Regions from separate parts of the Homo sapiens genome. Here region 2 is linked to region 1. The links are contacts of gene promoters, found by promoter capture Hi-C in blood cells and fetal thymus (Javierre and others, 2016). All regions are on one chromosome and are shown on one strand. Each heading gives the region's core, a stretch centred on a gene start or on the middle of the fragment in contact. The rest is flanking DNA. Distances are from core to core; before and after follow the strand shown.

Region 1 (5,951 bases), core at 1,380-3,879:
AGTTCCCCTAAGAGGTAGACAGGGGAAGTTGGACGCAAAAGAATAAGACCTGCTCAATTTTCCTATAGCCACGCCCTAACCAGTGAAGAAGAATTAAATTCAGGTCCCCTGACTTTAGTCCAAGGCTCTTAGTCTTTGATAGGAACTAGAAGTAAACTTTATGGAGCAAGCGGGAAAAGGCATGTGAGCTACAGCTGTGTTCCTGTCACCTTCTGGGAAAGAATTTAAACATAAATTCTTAATGAACATAACGAGAAAAAAAGACACTTCCCAATTACTCTCAAAGCATGATTACAAGTTATGTTTCTTATGCTAAAGGACGAGAATCAAAATGAGTAAGATACTAATTCACAAATTCAAGAAAGTCTACAGTCTGGAGGAAAGCTGACATCTGGCCCCCCAGATGCACTGGCTGCTGCTGGAACCTAACGCATGTGTCCTGATGGCAGGAAAGCTAATATGCTGTCACAGAAATAGCTTTCTACCAGTGGCCAAACTGGCTTTGCCCTCTGCCTCTCTCCACACCTCTCTAGCTCCAGAGGGAACTACTACAACCAATGAGAGAGAAGGTACATTCTCCCGGCCACTGACTCTGGTTAACATCAAGTTACAGAAAGAGTCCTCAGTCCTCATTCTCTCGTGTTCACTCTGCACCCCCGCTCCCAACTCCTCCTTTCTATGCTCACTCCTCCATATGTATAGGCGCCCCCCTACTTCCCACCCAACACACATACCAGATGCCAAGGGCCTGGAGAGCCCTCAACCAAATAAGCCCACTTGTCACATGTCCCAGAGTCCCATTTCTGATTCAAGCAGCAGAGACTTAAAAACAAAACAAAAAAACCCTAAGTGAGTCCCAGTCCTGATTTTGCAACACCAAAGAGGTCAGAGAACCAAAAGGAACCTTGGAGATCATCCAGAGAAGTTGAGTGACTTGCCTCCAAAATTACAGGGATGGCTCACTAAATTCTTCCCACAGAAATGTACTTCAACTTATTCATTAAATGCATATTTACTGTACCAGGCACCATGCTGGGTGCCCGAGACAGTATAATCAATATGTTTTAATCGCCCTTACTGAAAAATGGGGCGGGGCGCGGTCGGGAGAACAGTGAGATGGGGGATTTTCCCCAGAGGTGGTATCTACAAACAAATGTACAAGGGACGAATACCTAAGGCTGAGAATTACTGAACTGAGAATCTAGGTGAGTGATGAAGGCCCTAAGAACCCAGCCCCTCAAGGCTGGATACTGCCCAAGTCCCTGTCTGCTGTATGGACAGGTCTTTTAAAGGGGGAAAGGGGACATTCACCGCCATCCTCCGAAGGGGTTATGGATCCAAGGGATGGTCAGGCTGCCCAGCTCCTCACTGGGGCTAATTCCGCCCCATTTTCCAGTAGCATCACTAACTCAGTATTTCTGCATGAATTTTGGCCCCTTCTCTCCTAGAAAGACTCTCCTCAACTACACTAAAATACAGTTATCTCTCCTGTATCTCGTGTCTTCTTCCGAGTTTAAGAGACAGAAGTTCAGGGGAGGAAGGCACCAAGCCTAACCGGGGTGGAATTCCCTATTTGCAAGCAGTGCCCGCCTAGGCTAGAGGGCAGGCTGTCCGCTCACCCTTCCAAACCCCAATCTTTGAACCCTCCTCAGCACGGCAGGGGAGGAATGTGCGGAAGCAGCATAAAGCCAGGTGGACTTTCTGGTTTGGCACGTGAAGGACCTGGAACAGGACTGTCGGGGAAGATCAGACAATGAGAGGGAAAAGGTGAAGCTTAAGGGGACTCTGGAAAACTCAACACTCCCGCAGGGTTTCAAAGAATCCCCAAGAAATTTCTTTTGAGAAGTCACAAAACAAAACTAGGCAAACAGATGCCTCGGTTTTGTAAGAGATTGTGAGTAGCTTTAGGCAGCAATGAAACCTGACTCCGGGCCAGGAGTGCCTAGGGTCGGTCCAGCGGAGCGCGCATTCAGCGAGGGGTGTTCGGCCGGGGCCAGGCGGGGCCCAGGCGGGGCCCGCTGGCAGCTGGTTCCCGCCGCCGCAGAGCCGCAGGGGCGGGAATGGGGACTCGCCGCGCTGCCTCGAGGAGGAATGATTCCAGGGACCCCCCGGGGTTCCGAGAGAGCTGGGCTGGTCCGGAATGAATTCCCCGTTCCTCTGGCTGCTGGCCCCGGACACAAGACCCTCCGTCTCCTGCCGAGAGAGGCTCCCCCAGCCGCCTCGCCACGCCGCAGCCCGTCCGCGCCCGCGTCCCCGCTTACTTTTCGTCGCAGCGATGAGGTTCTTCCCGTCCTTAATGAGCTCTTTGATGAACTTGTTGGTCCTCTCGAGTTCCGCTTCGTGAGCGCGGATCCTCTCCCGGAACCACGGGCTGTCGAGGTAGCAGTCGCTGAACTCCAGGGGCTGCAGCCCCATGACGGCAGCGGTCGCTGCGCGGTGCGCACGGCCGCGCGCTCCTGCCCGAGCCGAGCTCCGAGGCCGCTGCCAGGTGCGGCGCCGCGCGTTCAGGGAGCACAGAGGAGCTAGCAGGCCCGGGCGCGCGGCGAGCGCGGCACGGACATGTCCCGTAGAGCCGAGTCCTGCGGCGCGGAGGAGCTGCCACCGAGACCAGCGCTAGCTGCGGCGCCCCAATCCCGGCAGCCCCCGCCGAGCTCTGAGCGCCCGCGGCCCCGCCCCGCCCGGCCCCCGCGCGGCAGACACTCCCCGAGGCGCCACCCGGCCGGGCCCGCGCTCCCGCTCGTCCCCTTCTCTTTCCTCCGCCTTCCTTCTTCCTCCCTTCCCTTCCCTGGACGCCTCTTCCTTCTCTTCCCCACGCGCAGCTGCCCCTCCTCTTCCTTCCGAGGCGTCCTGGGGCTAGAATTTCGCCCCGCGGCTCCCCTCCACCCTGGGCGCTCTCCCCTCCCCTTTGCTTGGGCTCCCGGGGCCGGGGTGACTCACAGTCGGCTCCCCGCTGCACGGAACCCGACCGGGACCGAGAAGGAGCGTCTTAATTGCAGTCGTTAGTCCCCGCAGGCGGGCGACATAACTCTGAAGTGGCTGCCTTGCAGGAGATGATTAACTCATTTATCTCATTTATCCTGGGACGCCCCCAACCCCGAGCTGGGAACGAACTCGCACAGGGGGCTCTTTTCCTTATCCCGGTTCCTTTCCCAGTTTAAAGTGAGATGCGTGGTAAATCTCCGCTTGAGATCGAAGCCTTACAATGGCAAGAGCGTTTTCTTGGTGGCCCAGCAGCTCCTATTACACTTCTCTGCGTATCCGCACTAAATAACTTAGTTGAAGAGAGAGGGCTGGCTAAACCACAGAAAAGTTGTTTCTGTTGTGTTCAGCACATTAAATTTGCTGGGGTAGGTGAAGACGATCTTTATTATTCTAAAAATAACTACCGGAAAACATGCCAGGTAACGTGTGGTTTTCACCGCGTGGGGGTGACGATCAATGAGAATTTATGTCAGTGCCCTCAAAAAGCCTATTTTGTGTGTTATGAAACAACTCCAGTGTGTCCCAAAAAAAGTTAGGCATTTTAAAGTATTAAAATGTATACCTTAGGCCGGACGTGGTGGCTCACGCCTGTAATCCCAACACTTTGGGAGACGGAGGCGGGTAGATCACCTGAGGTCAGGAGTTGGAGACCAGCTGGCTAACATGGTGAAACCCCGTCTCTACTTAAAATACAAAAAGTACCCGGGTGCGGTGGCACGTGCCTGTAGTCCCAGCTGAGGCAGGAGAATCGCTTGAACCCAGGAGGCGGAGGTTGCAGTGAGTCGTGATGGTGCCACTGCACTCCAGCCTGGGCGACAGAGCGAGACAATGTCTCAAAAAAAAAAAAAAGTATTTCTTAAAAAAAAACACTAATAGTTCATTAGAGTAACGTTTCATAATCGCAATTTATTAAGCAATTATTATGTGCCGGGCACCCACTAGGAACTCCATACATCTACAAACTCGCGATATAGACTTACATGATATGATGGTAATATTAACGAGAAACTTCAAAGTAATTCCTCAAGACGTTCAGACTCTCAGCTGGGTAATTAAGAATCTGTTTGGACAGCATGTTGTAGGAGGGTAACCCTCCCGAACAAGTTAAATAAGCCTCCTACTCAATAAGCCCTTTTGTTACAAAACAGCACCAGGAGTGCCTAACCCACAGATAAACATTATTACTCTAATGTCCATCCTCCAGAGAGTTCAAAGTGTTTTACAAATAACTTTTAGGCGGTGAAAGCTTCAGTTCCTACTAAAACCAGCAGGAGACTGGAGTCTACAGAAAAGAGAATAAAAGAGGCAAATAAAGGGGAAGAAAGACAAGAAGAGAGGGGGTGTAAACAAAAATGAGGGCCTAGCGAAACAGCCAAGCACTGACCACACTCAATCCTCAGAGCAGAAACCCAAACCTTTTCTCATAGAGGGGCTGCTGAGACTTCTTCAATATTGAACATGGAGGTTACCGTGTGACCCAGCAAGTCCACGCTTAGATATATACCCAAAAGAAATGAAAATATATGTCCACGCAAATATTTACACACAAATATTCATAGCAGCATTATTCGTAATAGCCAAAAAGTAGAATCAACCAAAATGTCCTTTGTCAGCTGTGTAATGGATGCACAAAATGTTTGTCCATAAAATGAAATATTAATCTACAATAAAAAGGAATGAAGTACTGACACGTGCTACGGCACAATAACGGTGAAAACGTTATACTAAGTAAAAGAACCTAGCTGCAAAAGGCCAATACTATCTACTTATATTAAATGTCCAAAACAGGTAAATCTATAGAGGCAGAAAGATTAGTGGTTGCTAGAGACTGGGGGATAGAGTGGAGGGTATATGTAGTCAGGAGTTTATTTTCAGGGTGATGAAAATTATTAATATTTTTATTTTTCATAGAGATAGGGTCTCACTATGTTGCCCAGGCTTTTCTCAAACTCCTTAGTTCAAATGATGCTCCCACCTTGGTCTCCCAAATTGCTGGAGTTATGGGAGTGAGCCGCCGAGCCTGGCCGAAAACAATTTAAATTTACATTTTGGTAATGGTTGCACAATTCTGAATATACTCAAAATCACTTAATTGTATGTGATAAATGGGTGGATTTCTTTTGGTCTGTGAAATATATCTCAATAAAAAATTTTTTTTAAGATGAACTACTCTAGAACTGCTTCTCCTTTACCACATTAGACTTCAAGCCGTAAAAACTCTGGTTTATTCAGTGTGCCCAGTTCTTTAGATATTTGGAGAAAAAAAAAAGTTGTTTAAAACAATGTCAAAACATCATAAAAAATATTACTTATCACTTCACACACATGTACACCCAGTGTTAAAGAGCTAGTGAATATGAATCTTAATTCATTACCAAATAGGTCCACAATAATTACCATGAGTGGAGGGGCCTGATTAATTTTGTTTTATTCAGCTATGCCTATGCAGTGTCTGGTATACAAGTGATCAGTAAATGTGGAATGAATAAGTATAACTAACTGAAGAGAAATCTCTGTACAGTGGACAGTGGAAAGATAGATATTTAGTAGTTCCAGCTCCAGCTTTACTACTTAACAGTTGTGCAACCTTAGCAAAGGTAATTTTCTGTAAACCTCAGACTTACCATCAGTGAAATGGAGATGATGACATTGCAGCTGCAGGTTGCTTGAGAAGATTTAATGAAATTGTGTTTGTAAAGTGCCTGCTGAAAATTATGATAATAATGAGACTCAAGGAAGAAGGAAGTGTGGAGGATGGGCTGAAGAGAGGGATGAGGGAGAGGAGGAGACAGATTACATTCCATCAATGTGGGAAAGATTTTCGGGGCAGGAGAGCCCTTAAATCATGGTTTTAAACCATGTAAGACAGAACTCAAGAAAAGTGGCCACAAAAGCAGATGCTACTGAGTTTCCAGGTTTCATCTTAATTAATCAATTATTCCCACAAATATTTACTGATCATTTATATG
Region 2 (6,454 bases), core at 1,452-3,951, 720 kb before region 1:
GTAGGCTTCTCTAATATTATACCATTACCCCTACTTCTCATGTAACAAAAATCACTCGATTTGGGAAGACTATAGGTGAAAGGGAAATTTGACACTTGCAGATATTTAGTTTTAGTTTGTTTTGTAATGCATTACCCATAGCAAATTTACCTCTATCTTTAGGAATAAAGATGACATCTGTCATGAAGCTTCTTACATTTTTTGTTTGCTGCTTCCAGTGTCATATATCTGACATGTGATAACCTCCCTCTATTAACTCTAATGTTAGGGAGAAGGTTTTATTCACTTTGGCTATCTACATGGCTATTCTTAACCTAGAATTATAGTGTCTGTTTCTGACACTGAACACACATTTTAAGAATTATCTTTTTAAATTATCTTTCTTATGTATACTTAGGCATCAGAAAATTAATTTTTGTTTTGTTTTGTTTTTGAGACAGGGTCTTACTGTGTTGCCCAGGCTGGAGTACGGTGGTGCGATTATGGCTTACTGCAGCCTCAACCTCCTAGGCTCAATCTATCCTCCTGCCTCAACTGCCCAAGTAGCTGGGACTATAGGTGCATGTCACCACACTCAACTAATTTTTTAAACTATTTTTTAGAGACAGGGTCTTGCTATGTTGCCCGGGTTGAGAAAATTAAAATATAAAAATTCAAGTGGACTCGTTTTATGTGGATACCTTATTGCCTGCCGCAATGCATTAATAATATTTTATATCACACTAACTTTTTTTATGGCTAAAGATTAAATCCTGAAGCATTTTTTTGCAATCATCTTTGCTAGAGTTTAAAAAATAGTGTTGACAAAGATGTTGTCTTAGTTGCTACTGACAGCTGTTAAAATGTTGCTAAAAATATAGTGCCAACTACTGAAAAGCTAACTGCTCCTGTGAAGTCCTAATGAGAAATTCTAAATGAGTGTTTCATCAAGTTCAACAGAGACTTACATTTCCCACACCTGACCCATTGGATTGTCTCACTTTTTTTGCGGTTGTTACTGTACATAATATTGCAGAAACAGCTTCAAGGCATAATTTTAATGAGCACACAAATCATGCAATTATTTATGTAAGATTAGCACAGTTATTTAAAGGTGATGAATTTCTTGTACTAAACCAAGAATATATGAAAAAAAGAGGAGAAATTGAAAATGTCTTTATTTTTATTAAAATATACTGCTCTAAGTTCCTCCCCTTTTTCAACTACTGTACATTATTTCTAAATTTAGAACATCAGTGTAGGCACGGTGAAATCTGATTTGCTTCTAATAATATGGCATACTAATTGTGATGCATGTGCTGTTTGGTGCTCTGTCATCTCAAAATCTGGCCATAAAAATGTATTAAGTTTGCATATTTTCTATTTAAAATGACTACAGATGGAATTAAGGTAGCCAGATGAATAAATAATAAGGTAAACAAATACAGAAATTAATGAATAACCAAAGCTAATACAAATATTCCAAGTAGTCTAGAAAATTGAGTTTGGGCTATTTTGGATATTAACAAAAACCCTGATATGTTTTGTATTTATCTTCTGGTCTACAATTTCTTATTTACTTGCAGTGTTTATAAACTGTAACATGTGTGCTTTGCAATAAACAAAGAAGAAGTTTTATCTTATATTATTCCTCTATTCATCTTCTCTCTCCAACACCCCCCTCCTTTCTCTTTCTGACTCTCCCTGTCTTTCTCAACTCTTTCCAACAGCTGGTAAGAGACTGAAAAAAAAAAAAAATCCCAGCTTTTTAGAAAGAAATAAAAAAAAATGCCAGCATGGCTAGGCTTATTAATGAAGTTAACTAGGACCAAATGCTTAGCCTTTAACTTTTAAAAATTATTGAATATGATTAAATTATATGATACCTATTGGTCTTTACTTTCTTGTCAGTAAATAGATAATGGAGAAGTACATAATACATTTCAACATATACATGTTCAATTTTTTTTTTGGCTTATAATTTTACAGCTTAACTCCATGGCTTTCCCCCCACCCCTCAGTGTCAGCTGTTGAAGGAATGGATTCGGAGCAGAGAACTAAGGGGTGGTTCTGCTAAAGCTGAAATAGAGAGCTAGGGAGGATTTTTTTCCAACACAAACTTAGATGATATTAGGCTTTGTATCTGAAGTTACATAATAGAGGATGTGATGTCACACATGTAAATTGCAAACGCTGAGTCGTGCACTTTAGTGGCAAACCTCAGGGAGTTTGACATTAATGGGATGGGGGGGAGGGAGGTGTCCTGAGGTTCAGCGACTGTGAATAGAGGGAGAGCAATTGTCAAAAGGGAGATGTCTGATGCTGCTTCAAGCTTTCAGCTATTTGGCAGCTACATAGGAGACGAAGTTAACGTCCTTTTCCGTACGATAATTCTCCCTTTTATTTTTCTTGAAAAAATTTCTATCCTTTTGCAAGGAAAAAATACACTTACATAAAAAGACGAAAGCAACAAACTTTGTTAAGGGACATCTCAGAAAACAACTAAATATTGACATTTACTAGGCACACATATTTCTGAGTTGATCGGGCTCTCTATGAATGGGCATTGGAATGAAGAGTATTCCTAAGCTTCTAAAAACCCATCTTCTTTGAAGAGATCCCTCTGAGGCATCACTTGTGGGGTGATTCCAAGCAAAACCAGTGCCACCTTCTCTTCAGATGAGGGAGACTCAGATCTTATCCCAAAGTTGTTCACTTTTCAGGGTGTCACAGGACCACCTTTTGTCTCTCAGCAGAGGAAAATATAAAAGTGGTTTACCCAGGGGAAACTTAATCATTCAAATATTTGGGCAAATGTTTAAAGACTCAGATACCAAAAAACAAATAAAGCTTTGCCTATTAATAATTGCAAGATCCCCTAACATCTCTCCCAAGGGGTAAGATAAGCTGATACTGTAAATAAGGGCAAATGGACTCCCCACAAGCTATTTTGTGAAAAAGTTTCAAAAGAATATCCATATCTGCTTAAAAATTCAATCTTAGCTTTGTAATACCAAACTGTTTTAAAAGCAGGGAAGATGAAAATTTGAGAACAGTTTGTGTGTGTGTGTGTATGTGTGTGTGTGTGTGTGTATGTATAAAATGGACAAAAGAAACACAGGAAGAAACCTTATAAATTTCTAAAATGTTGCAGTTATAATAACCCCACTGTACACCCTAATTTGATCAAATTGTCCTTAATTGAAATCATTGATTAAAATAGTGGTGGGAGTACCTAGCTTAAGAATTGTTATAGAAAATCATTTTGTAAAGGAGGAAACAATAATCAATGCCCAATTTGTAAGTTTTGGAAACAATTTACATTATATAGGTTACCTTAAGTGGGGGGGTTCTTTTTATCCAACATTGTGTTATGAAAAATTTCAAACACACAAAAAAGCTGAAGGAACTTTACAGTGAACACCTGTATACTTAGCACTTATATTCTACTATTAATATTGCATTATCAACATGTTTTATCACATATCTATCCATCCTTCTGTCCATTTTATCAATCCACCAATGTTGCTGCATTTTATTTTTGATGCACGCACTTCCAAATTAGTTTGCAGACATCAGTACACTTCCAAATGGTTCTTTTTAAAACTCACTGAATGTTATTTTTCAAAATATCTGATACGTAAATATTTTCTTGATCACCATCTTAAGATATACCTTAAGAATGCAGTAAATATGAACCTAGAAGCCTTTCCTACAAATAAGAAAAGCCAAAAGGTTGTTTTACTAGAGGCCAAATTGTTACCTTGAGCCAGCTAAGAACCGAGTCGTGCCAAAACTGTGTAGGTGATGGAGGCAATGGGAAGCTCGCTGTCAGGACAGTGGGAATGTGGAAGGAGAAAGGCAGTGATTGTTTTAACAGGGCACCTCGGTGTTTAACACGGGTCTATGTGGGAAGGGATTAGCAACTTTCACAGCTATTTAGGAATAAAACGGGAAAGAACCCAAAGAAGGGCGGGGGTGGAAGGGGGCAATAGAGCCTGCAGAAAAAGGAGTGTTAAGCCAGAAAAGGGGTGTGTGTGTGGTCAGTTGGTGGGGTTTAACTGAGTCAAAAGGGACCACAGCAGGGGAGCCGGTTAACTGGTAGTGACACTCACACTTCTCCCCCCTCCCAAACCCCCAATCTTCCATCTAAGGGTGTGTGTAACGGTGCGGGGGAAGAGTCTGGGGCAGAAGCGTACCTCGCACACGCGCGTGAACACGCGCGCACACACATGCACACGCATACATATCTCCTGACGTGGTGATCTCCGTGGCCGGGGTGGGGGCGTGGGACTCCGGGGAGGCTCCGCAGAGGGGCAGCGGGCGCGGGAGAATCCCGGGATCCGGGTTCACCCATCCATCCTCTGTCCCCTGCCGCGTGCCCGCGCGCCGCCGGCCGCCCGCCTGCCGGGCCCAGTCGCCCCCCTTTCACTTTCGCGTCTGCGTAGGTGTCTGCCCGAGCGGGCACGAGGGCGCGGGGGCGCGCCAGGAGACGCGGGGGCGCGCGGCGCGCCGCGAGCGGAGGAGGAGGGGTCCCGGCTCTCGGCCCCTTCCTCGGCTTGCCCCGCCGAGCCGCCTCCGCGGGCGTCTGAGCCGCCGTCAGAGCGAGGGGACCGGTCGCGACCGCAGCGCCCCAGCCAGCTCCCCGCACGCCTCCGCGCACAGACGCCCGCTCCCTCCTCGGCGCCCCCCCACGGCGGGGGTGGGGCAGAGGCGCGGCGAGCCCGAGAGGGGCGGGGAGAGGAGCAGCCTGGCGGGGTGGGCAGCCGAGGAGCAGGAAAAGAAAACTTTTCCCTCCCGCCCCCCGCGCGAGGTCCCCAGCCCTCGCCTCCCCCCGCAGGTGGGAACTGCACCTGAAGCCGGGCGCGAGGTCAGGGCCGGACTTTGGAGGGCTGCGGGCAGGGCTGAAGGGGGTGCGTGCATTTGGGCTCAGTTTTCCTTTGGCCTCCAGGTTGTCAGTGGCCGTAGTGGGAGGGCGGCTGCCGGCGCCCCTGCCCGTTTCCCACCCGCGGGTGGCCGGACGCGGTGCCGCCTCCTCCCGCTCGTGAGGGCGTGACCCGGGGAGGGGGGCGCAGGCTCCCCCTGCGACCGCCCCCTCACACACGCGCTCGGCCGCCGGAGCTGTCACCGGCCACCCAGGGCCCGGGGAGGGGGCGCGGAGAGTGGCGCTGCGGAGCGGCGGGCGCGGGATCCTCCTGCCGGACTTCCCGGCTCCCAGGGACGCCGCTGTCAACGCCGAGCGGACGCGCAGCCCCGGGAGAGGGGCCCGCCAGAGGCCCGGCCGCCGCCGCTGGGGGCGGGCGGGTGCCCGCGTCCCCCTCTGCGCGATTTGGCGCCGCTGCCTCGCCGCCTCTTGTAGGGTAACAGCACTATTGCTCTACCCACCGTCAGCAGGGCGACTGCCACTGCCGGGATTATCATCCTCTCCATCCTCACCGCCGATCAGCCAATATTGGACTTGCTGGTGGCGGCGGCAGCAGCGGCGGCGGGAGTCTAGCCGTTCCCCTTCCCCCGCCCCAGCCTCCCCACCATGTCCTAGAAAAGGTGAGTGCAGCGACAGTCACTTTGCGCTGACAGCGGCGAGAGGGGGTCCGGAGAGCGCAGGGGCGGCCCCGGGCAAGGCAGGTTGCGCGCCCAGGGCAGAGGGCGCGGGTTGGCGAGCGGAGGTGGGATGCGGGCAGGAGACGAGTTGCCCGCTGGCGGCCCTGGGGCAAGGGTGCTGGGTGGCGGGCGAGTGATCGCGGCGGCTGCCCCTGCACGGTTCTAACCTAGATTTTGCAAGAAGCTGAGATCCAGGGCAAGACCGGCCCTCCTCAAAGGAGATAAAAACTTAGTAAAAGAGACACGTCCATTCCTTTAATAATGAATAATTCGGCAACGCTTGCGGAGCCGCCGCCGCCTCGCGTGCCCAGGCTCTAGGTCCGGGACTCCCCTTGCTCCCGCCCGCCGCCCGCGCTCTGCCGACGTGAGATCGATGCCCAGTTCGCTGGGCCGGGAGAGTGCGCGTGACGGTGGGCCCCGCGGGAAAGTTGGGACGCTCGGCGGGGACTCCTGGCTGCGGGGACGCCGGGGGCAGCTCCAAGCTGGGGACCGAGGGGCATTAGAGTCTGGGGTCAGGACCAGCTCGCGGCGCTGCCGCTGTCGCCCCTATCTCCAGGGAGTTCCTGACTGGAGCGGCTGAGAGTTCAAGTCTCAGCCCTGGGTTAGGGGTCCGGAATCCCGGAGCTTAACTAACTGTTAAGGAGAGGAGGGGCCTTTGGGCACAGGGTGTCCCCCGGTCCCCCGCCTCGGGCTTTGGCGGGCGCGAAGCGAGGGTGAGGCGGGAGGCCGCACAGCTGCCGCCGCCGGGCTGCGGGTCGCCGAGGGCCGGGGGACCAGATTTAGGTGTATACGTCACTGATGCTGACTCCGGGCCAGCGGGGAGCCTAAAACGGGGCCTTACATGAGAAGCCTAAAAGTCCTTAGAAATCAAAGT

What was found. Contacts are between HindIII fragments. The CHiCAGO score rates a contact against its expected background, and 5 or more counts as called.
Region 2: a contact is called between a fragment that was not itself captured here and the fragment with the promoter of ARHGAP10 in region 1, in 1 of 17 cell types (total CD8 T cells). The highest score is 5.3, in total CD8 T cells.

What each region holds. Positions count from the first base shown.
Region 1 is chr4:147,728,766-147,734,716 of GRCh38, reverse strand. It overlaps ARHGAP10 (Rho GTPase activating protein 10), which reads right to left and starts at 2,629. Exons shown (of 23, transcript NM_024605.4): 1 at 2,262-2,629. The coding sequence starts at 2,415. RefSeq lists enhancers at 585-714, 1,843-1,912, 1,233-2,125, 2,126-3,018 and silencers at 2,023-2,102, 2,413-2,932. The HindIII fragment of the contact is 2,455 bases long and covers 1,776-4,230 here.
Region 2 is chr4:148,443,595-148,450,048 of GRCh38, reverse strand. It overlaps a transcript of NR3C2 not described here. Among named protein-coding and RNA genes, the nearest start is that of NR3C2, 4.4 kb to the right of the region's middle. RefSeq lists silencers at 4,302-4,441, 5,202-5,251 and an enhancer at 5,412-5,501. The HindIII fragment of the contact is 261 bases long and covers 2,571-2,831 here.